Regions from separate parts of the Homo sapiens genome. Here region 1 is linked to region 2. Evidence: promoter capture Hi-C in 16 types of primary human blood cells and fetal thymus (Javierre and others, 2016). All regions are on one chromosome and are shown on one strand. Each heading gives the region's core, a stretch centred on a gene start or on the middle of the fragment in contact. The rest is flanking DNA. Distances are from core to core; before and after follow the strand shown. Region 1 overlaps CDKN2B-AS1 (CDKN2B and CDKN2A antisense cis and trans regulatory RNA 1). Region 2 holds the start of CDKN2B (cyclin dependent kinase inhibitor 2B).

What was found. Contacts are between HindIII fragments. The CHiCAGO score rates a contact against its expected background, and 5 or more counts as called.
Region 1: a contact is called between a fragment that was not itself captured here and the fragment with the promoter of CDKN2B in region 2, in 4 of 17 cell types (M2 macrophages, endothelial precursors, M1 macrophages and 1 more). The highest score is 9.2, in M2 macrophages.

The regions. Positions count from the first base shown.
Region 1 is chr9:22,109,697-22,114,949 of GRCh38, reverse strand. CDKN2B-AS1 (CDKN2B and CDKN2A antisense cis and trans regulatory RNA 1) reads right to left here. Exons shown (of 19, transcript NR_003529.4): 15 at 2,555-2,630; 16 at 1,151-1,284. Among named protein-coding and RNA genes, the nearest start is that of CDKN2B, 100 kb to the right of the region's middle. The HindIII fragment of the contact is 8,003 bases long and covers 1-5,253 here.
Region 2 is chr9:22,007,615-22,012,962 of GRCh38, reverse strand. CDKN2B (cyclin dependent kinase inhibitor 2B) reads left to right here and starts at 3,658. Exons shown (of 2, transcript NM_004936.4): 1 at 3,658-4,165. The coding sequence starts at 4,010. The region is part of intron 1 of CDKN2B-AS1 (CDKN2B and CDKN2A antisense cis and trans regulatory RNA 1); the gene reads right to left. It also overlaps the pseudogene UBA52P6. RefSeq lists silencers at 1,699-1,993, 4,117-4,316. The HindIII fragment of the contact is 2,577 bases long and covers 1,792-4,368 here.

The DNA of each region.
Region 1 (5,253 bases), core at 419-2,918, 100 kb before region 2:
TCGGGCCATGAGTTAAAGTATTTTAAAATAAAGTATGATAAATGAAAGTATTTAGTCAGTAATGCAGCATAAATTTGAATGATTAGCTCTTTCAATGACATGGCTCTTGAAAGCAGGAAAGAAAAGACCATTATCTCATGAATTCACACACAAAAAATTGTTTGCTCTGATAGTAATTATGACAGCTATTGCAAGGAAAATAATAGACTGATGGTCTTAGCCGCTGCCTCTGAAATTCATCACCAAGTTTGTACTGAGTCCATGCTTTCTATGGCTGCTCCCAGCCAATTACTAAGCACAGCAGATGTACTAAAGCAAGTCCGTTCCTGAAAGATGCAGTACTCTTCTGGTGGGCAGCTTTGCCTTAAATACTCCTAATCAGCTTTGTCAAAACGTTCTTAGAATTGAAATCTTAAGGTTTTTCTTCTTTGCCTTCCTCTCCTTTCTCCTTCATGGGGATGAGTCTTACATAGTAGCCACACAGTCTGCCCAGGCTCCTCTATGTACCTCTCCATTTTCTCCCACAAGGTTTACCTCGGCGAATCTCTTGCACATCTAATTTCATCTTAACATCTTTCTCTCAGAGGACCTGAACTAACACAGTGATTCAAGTAGAGATATATTTAAGGGACAGGAAGAATCAGGACTTTTAATGTATTTAGGATGATTTGATCCAAGACCAAGAGGGAAAGTCACAGGTGATTGTAAGAGAAGTTTGACCAGGTATAAGAGGGAACTTTCTGAGAACAACTAGGTCATGACAGAAGTGGCTGTGACAGTGGGAGAGGAGGTTGGAGTAATCAAGGTCTGAAGTTGTTCATTTGCATACCTGATGCTACATAAGTTCCAAAGGCCAATTAGAGAATCTGAAAAGATTCCATTGTTTTTGGTACCATGTATATCAGTTGATATATGTGGTTGGATCCTTTTAAAAGGACTCGACGTATTTTCATTTGGACTCTATAGAGTCTTTTTAAGAGAATTTTACAAATTTTTATTTGGCCTTAGGGGCATGTGGCTTGCAATTTTTACATTTGTGATTACAAGGTCTTGCATAATTAGAAAAAGTAAAATAGAAAGTTGACTATTTGTATCAGATATTGAAATTTTCAGCCAATAGGAACACATTTATTATAAAAGCAATACTTACATTTTTATATTCCTTCACCATCTTCAAGTGTGTAGAGCTTCGTATCCCCAATGAGATACAGTAATGTTTGTATAACTGGAGTTACACATTGTTTGACATGCTATTGCATTTGATCTTACGTCTATGTTAAGATCCTGTGAGGCAAGCAGGGCAAAGAGCATTAAAACTCACTTTTGCAAATAGTGAGACTGAGGCTTGGGAGATTTAGCAAATATATACTAGAGTCCAAGCAAGAAACCAGGCTGCAGCAGGCAGAATTTCTAGGAATGACCCCGAAGATTTTATACCCTAGTCTCTGCAATGTGCGAATGTGATTGGCTATGTTATATAGCATAGTTGACCTTTAAGTAAAAGATTATCCAGACGGATGTAATCTAATCCCATAAACTCTTAAAAGCCTCTTCTGCTGGTGGCAGAAGAGAAAAGAAGTTACAGAGCTGTGACAGAAAGGGAAGTCAGAGATTTTCAAAGAATGAGAAGGATTTGACAGGCCATTGCTGGCCTGAAGATGGAGGGGATCATATGGATGGCTTGATAAGGAAATAAATTATGCCAGCAGCCTGAGAGTTTAAAAGGGACACAGGCTCCAGCTTGGGAGAACTGCAGCTCCCATTGATACTTTGATTTTGACCTGTGAGATTCTAAGCAGAGAACCCAGCCGAGCCACGCAGTGCCTGGAGGTCTGACACACAGGAACTGCGAGATAATACATGGGCGTTATTTCAAACCTCTAAGTTTGTGGTGACTTGTTATAATGCAATAGAAAACTAATACGTCAGTTTTCTCACTTCGTCACTATTTTTATCACATCACCCCTCCTCTTAACCAAACAGCAAGCAGTAAACTGAAGCACAGTACCAACCTTCTAGTTTTGCCGATGTGACTTTGTCTAGAATTTTAGCTTTCTTAGCACAATTTATTTTAGGCCTTACCTCATTTTCTTTTGTTCTGAACTTGTGGACTTTTACTCATTTTTTTAAGAAGACAGGGCTCTCATTTTCTCACATTGATTGCTTTTTGGAAAATATTTCAGGTAAATTATACATAGTTCAAGAAGAAATTATTATAAGATTAAATTTTGCTATAATAGTTTGGAAACACTTTAGAACTCTCTTTATAATATACTAAAAATGTCATGGGGATTATTTGAGCAATATAGTGAAGAATTATTGTTTTATCTGCCTATTCTACTACCTTCTATAAATTGCACTTCCTTTGTTTTGAGAATGGTCTTCTCCCAGTCAAACCAAGTGATTCCAAGAAAATATCCATGTTTTTATATAGTCAGCCACACATAATAGTGTATTGGTCCAGAGATGGGCAACATCTCCAATCTGAGACAATCAGACTTTTCCCAGGTAATTTTTGACTTTTCAACAGAAAAACCATAAGTTAATCTCTCACCAGTGGTGGATGTTGTAGAACGTAGAACTCGGGAAGTGCTAGCAGCAATGTTTCTTGCCATGTGAGAGAAGCCAATCTACAGTGAAAGAGAAGAAAGTCAAGCCAGGGAGAAAAGCCTGAGCAAGAGTTGGAGAGAGATCCCTCGCAGTGGTTTAACCCCTTGTTTTGGCTGTTCTAGAGTCCAGCTCTATGCTGTCCTTCAAAATGGTTTGATTGTTCAGTCCTTTCTGGAATTCCATTAACCAGTATGTTTCTTCTCTTACCTTGGTAGTTCAAGATGAGTTTCAGCCACTTACAACCAACAGAGATGTGACTCATACAAGAGAAAAATTTTACTTTGTTTTCCTTTGAAAATACTTACTGTGGTGGGAAAAACCTCTAGCCAAGAAACTCATCCAAGTTTCTCCAGGACACTTGTGATTTAGCTGGACTTCCATTTTTATTCCTTTCATGTCAAAATCAGAGCTTTAACACTAACTGCCATAGTTACTGGGTTGTTTTGCTCACTGCCACACCAAACACTCCTTCCAAAATGGTTTGTTCATACAAACACTTTAAAATTTTTAATGCTATCTTGATTATAGCAGCCCATAATTTGTCAGTGTCACATCATAAACATTTACTGGGTGCTTGTCTCACTTATTATCTACTTTCGAATTTCTTTAATTGGCACTGAAATTAAATGCATTTATAAGTGTTAGGTATTGCGAAAGAGATTTGGTAGGCTAAAGAGAGAGAAAAAAAATCTATTTCACTGTAAAAACCTGTCTTTCTATTTCTACTCATATTCCTAAAGGAAAAATGTCACATATATATGGATAATGTGAAATGTATAGTTTTCACATTTTGACATCTGATCACTTGTAAGAAAGAGATAGTAGTGCCAAGTATGAACTCATTCTCTTGTAATTAGCTAATACTTCACAAATAGAATCATAATATGTGCTTTGGGTGATTTTTTAAAAATGGAAGGCATTAGTCAGACTGAGCTTTGTTGAATCCCTGCTCTTTAGGAAGTTATTTTAAATTCTCCAGACCTTCCTTTTTAAAATAAGGATTCATAGAGTATTGTGGTTAAGGATGAAAACTATGGTAACAGACTGCTGAATTCAGACTTTGGCCTCACCACCAACTCACTCTGACATTAAACAAGTTGCTTGGTGACTCTAGGCCTCAGTTTTGTAGTGCATCTTAAGATGAACAGACAGACAGATACATACATATACACGCCAGGTAGTATAAGAATGTTCAAAGCCACATTGTTCATAACAGCAAAAAAATAAAATAAATAAATAAAATGGGAACAACTCAAATATCCAACAATGGTAGAATAAATTGTAGCAAAGTCATCCAATAGAATATTTTTCAGCAACAGCAATGAATAAACTATAGCTACACACATCAATATTGATGAATCTCAAAATAAAATGTTCATAGATTAATCAAGTCTTAGAAAATTCATACTATAGGATTACATTTACATCAAATTTAAAAACAAGTGTAACTAAGCCATGTATTACCTAGGGATACATACATAGATGGCAAAGCTAAAGAAAACAAGTTAATGTTTGGCACAAAATTTGGATAGTGATCACTTTCAAGAGTAGGAGCGGGATGAGATTGGGGAGGAAATACAGGGCATCTAAAGACAGGTAAAATGGTATTTTTTAAAAATGAGAGATGAGTATAGGGTTTTTGAATTTTAATTCTTCTATAAACTCTAGATACATGGTTTACGCACTTATACACAATGATTGCAAGACACAAAAAATAATCATAGTAACTACAACATTTTGAGAAAACTAAACAAGATCCTACATGTTTAGTGACAGTGTGTAGCATATACTAAGCTCTCATTAAAAGATGGGATCCATAGTGATGATGTTATGACATGCAGATATTTGTAACACTTGCAAAAAGAAAATACCAAAAAGTACTGTATCTTCATCTGTGTACACTGTTGTATTCCAAGACTTCTGGGAATCTATGTTAAATCCACAGTCCTATTAGAAATGTCAACTTAATGGTTTTCAAACTTTACTCATCCAAGTGATAGTACCAGAAGAGATACCTAGATTTTCAATCACAGCTAAGAATTCTACCTGGTTAAATAACAGGCACCCAGTGGATGTTCATACTGACAAATATGAGATGTTTAGTTGCTGATATCAGAGAATTCAGTTCAGCCTTTAAGGAAAAGTATGATCAACTAGTAACTATATCTTAGAAGAGAGAATAATAGTGGATTAAGTATCTATTTCAAACTATCCTAACTAGGGTCTATTCATAAAATAATAGAATTGTAAAATTAGTAAATCACCTTAACCATCACCTCATACAATTACTTATTTACAGCTAAAGAAGCTAACATTCAGGGAAGTCAATTGACTTCTAGGTAACAGTGAGTTTGTTGCAGTGTTAAGGCTAGAATACAAGTTAGGATGGAAGCTGCAGAAAGGATCCTATTGTTGGTGTTTATCAGACCAAATAGAAGGAAAGATGGGAGGTCATTGGGAGAGCAAGGGAAAATGAGTGTGATTAGGCATGGAAAATCTTGCACCAGCTCCCTTCAAAGGGACCATAGCAGTTGCAATCCACTTTAGGTTCCCCACAATAAAGCCTGATAAATCACTATTTGGGTAATACTTTTGAATGATCTCTTTTAAGGCCAAATTCCTGGAAAAAAGACAGACACAGCT
Region 2 (5,348 bases), core at 2,409-4,908:
TTATGGCAGCCCTAGCAAACTAATACGGATACTAAAATGATGAACAAGTCCACCATTTAATTAATCTTGAAAAATACATGGGAATATAGAAGTGGATATACTGTGGATCACGGAGCAATAAACCCAACTCATAAAATGGAGAAAATCAAACCTCTTGGTGGGAAGGTGTGTTCATAAAAAATTTGAAAAAGCCCCAAAAGTGATTATGAATTTCCTTCTCTTCTCACTTATAAACACTATCTTAGTCCTAATCATATGCAAAAGTGTGCATAAATGAGGGCAAGGTTAGGTCGCTGTTTCTCTTGGCCAGTCAACCAGTTCTATTCATACTTTTTTTTTTTCCAGTCAATGAAAGGGACACTTTATTGAGGCTCCAGGGCCATGGGGCCTGGGCAGGAGGCTGCCCTCCGAGGAAGGAAGAGCCTTATTTGACCTTCTTGGGGTGCAGGTTGTTGGTGTGGCCACACTTCTTCTTGCGGCAATTGACAGCATAGGGGTGCAGGAGAGCATAGCGCTTATGGCAGATCATCTTGTTTCAGCTGTATTTCTAGGTGAGCTGGAAGAGTGAAGGCTCAATAATGCCACCTCGCAGGTGCAGCACCAGGTGCGGGGTGGGCTGTTTCTGGACGTTGTAGTCTGAGAGAGTGCGGCCATCCTCCAGCTGTTTGCTGGCAAATATCAGACGCTGCTTGTCAGGGGGGATACCCTCCTTGTCTTGAATTTTCGCACTGACATTCTCAATGGTGTCACTGGGCTCGACCTCAAGGGTGATGGTCTTGCCCGTGAGGGTCTTCACAAAGATCTGCATCTCTGTGTCTGCAGCTCGGCTGCCTCGCTGAAGAAAAAGAGGATGGCAGATCTGTTCATACTTCTATATCAAGGTCATATACAGACAATTTCACCAACTAGAATATAAAAATATTATTACTAGTGATCTGAGTTATGTGCAACATTGGAATGGATGCCACTCATTCCCTTCTACTGACCTCCAAAATTCTATGCCAATTTACCATTAACTTTCTCTTTCTTTCTTCTCAATTATAAATTCTCCACCTTATTAAAAGACATGGCTCTGACAATTCCAAGTTTCAGCTGCCCACTATGTTCCCATCCACTTCATCTTTTAAATGTGTTTAAAGCATTAACAACAGATTGTGTTTCACCCTAGAGACAGCTGGGTTTCAAGGAGAGGTAAAATGTTTCATAATCTCACTCTATTGTCCAAGACAAATGTGCTATTGTATTACATGTGAAATGTCATCTTTGAAGTCTGGTAAGGGTGTGCTGTGAGGTGAGCCATCTGGAAAACACAGTGTAGACTGAAAAATAATTATAAGCCAGTTTATTACTTTTTTCCAGTTAAGCCTACCATGACAGCTGCTAAAAAAAACACTATGTAGTATAAAGGGTAAAAAGACTCTGAAGTCGCAAAAGTTATACCCACCTCCAACAATGATTAGCTAGTATACAAGTCACTCAAATTCTCTGATCCTTTTGGCTTGTCTGTAAAATTGAAATATGGACACATGCCACAGAGGAGTTTTATGAGTATTAAATGAAACAACAGCTGTAAAGCACTTCGTACAGAGTACACAATAAGTTTGATTTCTCTTCTCGTCTTCTAAATATAGACTATATAATATTCTTTATACAGAGAATATTAGATAAAATCCAATCATATTTGAAAACCAGGTTGAGCAGGTTGGTTTTTCAAAGAAATTCATTGAGCTTCCATAATGTCCTTTCTATTTGACGGGAGAAAAGGGGCTTTGGAAGATCAAGTGTGAAGCTTTAGAATTCTGTCTGGAGCTGGTTAGGACCACCCAGGCCTGAGTATAAGCAAAGCGCTGTCCGTGGTGCTAGTAAGCGCGAATGCCCCCGGCAACGTTTTCCCTACCCAAAGTTGTTTTTCATTCAGTCAACTTGCTTCGCGAAGCTCACACATCTGCCTCGTGCAAGATTCTCAGTCATTTTACTTAGTCATTGGTTCTTTCCCTATCACCATTCTTTATGTCCCCCTCAAAGAAAAACATTATCTTCCATTTCCTTATCAACTCCAAACAGCTTTCATTTTTCTGACATATTTACTACCTAAGAAAATGGCTCAAGAATTGGGTCAGACTATCTTGTCCTAACTTTTCTGATAAGTTTCAGAGAAACTCAAAGGTCAAAACAAGAGCATAAGAGTAAAAGGTAGAGAAATTAAGAAACTGAAGACTAGGAAATGGGGGTTGGATGGGAAAGAAAAAGAAATTGTTATTAATGCTACCCGGTTCCCTTCCCTGTCCAGGTGGATTTCAGCTCTGTTGAGGCTCTGTCAGTAGATTTTCAGCCCTAACCAGCACTTCCATGGTGGTGGCACTTCCACTGCCTTTAAAAGAAAGAGCTTTTTTTAATTCTACAGGGATTTGGGGGATGAGGAGTCAGAGCTAAGGTATCCTAAAAAAAACATGTGAAGACTCTCATTTTGCAATACACAAGCAATTGCCCTCCTGTTAAGACTTTGTCTTCCTCAGCACTCCGAACCAAAATGATTCTGTAAACAAAAATTGTTCACTTTTAGGAGAGGTCCACTTATGCAGTTCCTCACCAAAGTTTTTAGGCAACAAATCCATAACTTGCGGTTCTCTTCCTATCCAATGTAGCATCCGCTGAAATGTTTTAAATATTTTAAGTAATAAATGTTGATTCAAACTCACCTAGGAAGATTAGGAAGGGGAAAAAAAGCACTTGGCATTTAAATCTTCAGAAGAGAATTTAATGACAGGTTCAGCCTGTTTAATGACAAGCCCAGCACCACACCCCTCTCTTATGATGTTTCATTATTACTGCATAAATTTCCTTTATTACTCATGATAAATAAAAATAAGATACCTGACAAAGTGGGTTTAAATAGGTAAGAGTGCAAACAAAGATTTACTGTACAAATATGATGAAACTGGGATCTCAGATTCTTAAAGTATAATTTTTTTTTGTCTTATGTGTGCCAGGTTGCCACTCTCAATCTCGAACTAGTTTTTTTCTCTTTTAAGGGTTGTATCCATAATGCAAAAATGGAAAGAATTAAAAAGCACACGCAAAACATGATTCTCGGGATTTTTCTCTATTTTTATGGTTGACTAATTCAAACAGAAAGACACATCCAAGAGAAAATTGCTAAGTTTGATACAAGTTATGAAACTTGTGAAGCCCAAGTACTGCCTGGGGATGAATTTAACTTGTATGACAGGTGCAGAGCTGTCGCTTTCAGACATCTTAAGAAACACGGAGTTATTTTGAATGACTTTCTCTCGGTCACAAGGGAGCCACCAACGTCTCCACAGTGAAACCAACTGGCTGGCTGAAGGAACAGAAATCCTCTGCTCCGCCTACTGGGGATTAGGAGCTGAGGGCAGTGGTGAACATTCCCAAAATATTAGCCTTGGCTTTACTGGACATCCAGCGAGCAGTGCAGCCAGCATTCCTGGCGGCTCCCTGGCCCAGTCTCTGGCGCATGCGTCCTAGCATCTTTGGGCAGGCTTCCCCGCCCTCGTGACGCGTCGGCCCGGGCCTGGCCTCCCGGCGATCACAGCGGACAGGGGGCGGAGCCTAAGGGGGTGGGGAGACGCCGGCCCCTTGGCCCAGCTGAAAACGGAATTCTTTGCCGGCTGGCTCCCCACTCTGCCAGAGCGAGGCGGGGCAGTGAGGACTCCGCGACGCGTCCGCACCCTGCGGCCAGAGCGGCTTTGAGCTCGGCTGCGTCCGCGCTAGGCGCTTTTTCCCAGAAGCAATCCAGGCGCGCCCGCTGGTTCTTGAGCGCCAGGAAAAGCCCGGAGCTAACGACCGGCCGCTCGGCCACTGCACGGGGCCCCAAGCCGCAGAAGGACGACGGGAGGGTAATGAAGCTGAGCCCAGGTCTCCTAGGAAGGAGAGAGTGCGCCGGAGCAGCGTGGGAAAGAAGGGAAGAGTGTCGTTAAGTTTACGGCCAACGGTGGATTATCCGGGCCGCTGCGCGTCTGGGGGCTGCGGAATGCGCGAGGAGAACAAGGGCATGCCCAGTGGGGGCGGCAGCGATGAGGGTCTGGCCAGCGCCGCGGCGCGGGGACTAGTGGAGAAGGTGCGACAGCTCCTGGAAGCCGGCGCGGATCCCAACGGAGTCAACCGTTTCGGGAGGCGCGCGATCCAGGTAGCTGGGGCCCCAGGGCCTCGCCGGCAGGGGGCGCGCGAACGCGGGGCGCGGCCTCGGCGGATCGGGGCTGGAACCTAGATCGCCGATGTAGATTTGTACAGGAGTCTCCGTTGGCCGGAGGTGTGCATTCCACGCGTAAAACAGGCTTTTACCCAGCAAAAATCCTAAAGAGAGACATTGAAAAACCCACTGTTTAAGCTTTTTTTAGTGGTTTTTGTTCTGCCATCTCATGATCAGAGATGCAAGGAATAGACTGAATTGGGGAGAAAAGGAGAAAAGGAAAGCTTATTTAGGGAAGAAGATTATCTTGTCTGTCTGCTTTCAACGATAAAGATAAGTAAAGTATAAGTTACGCATTCTAGATTGGATTTAAGGAATTCTACAAAATCATAGTACATGGAAAAAATCAATGTAAACTTCTAAGCTACTATATGAAATCTGTTGTATTGTTTTCTCATAGAGGTTAATTGAGAATGAGACGGGATTCCTCAACCACAGTACTTAGTTCCTTTTATGTTAGCAGTGTCTTATGAGTGATGCATAAGAGAAAAAATATATAGTTCTATAGGTTTCTCATTCTTTAATTATCATACTCAGTGCCCAGATTACAAAAATATTCCTGCAGCAACTGTTAGGTCCTTTTTGAATGGCAAAGGATCTTCATAAATAATGCATCTTTATCTTCATTGTTAAAATACACTTATTCAATGTTTAAGTACGAATCCTGCTTTAATTAGTACTGATATTTTTTATTTCTTTTACAATCTCGGACAACTCTTTTGTACTTTACCGTTGGCTAGTGGTCATATTCAGTACTCACCTCACTATCACCCTCTAAAACTAAGCTAATATTAAGGGATCTTGTTAATAGTATAGATTTTAAAGAAGTGTTCATTTCTTTTGAATTCTTAGAATAATGGTATAACAAATGAGGGATTTTTAAAGGAGCAAAAATATTGTAAAGTGCATCTTAAAAACTTAAAATTTTATTAATAATTATAAAAACAAGTTATATATGTAATTCACCATTTTCTGAAATACTAACAGCAGCTATTTTCCCCTTTTTTTCTATGTAAAATATCCTTACATCACTAGTAGATATAACTTATCACGGTTTTTAAGAGATGAAATGAACATTTCTAATATTAATGAAACAAGCCAACAAAACATGAGAAGTATA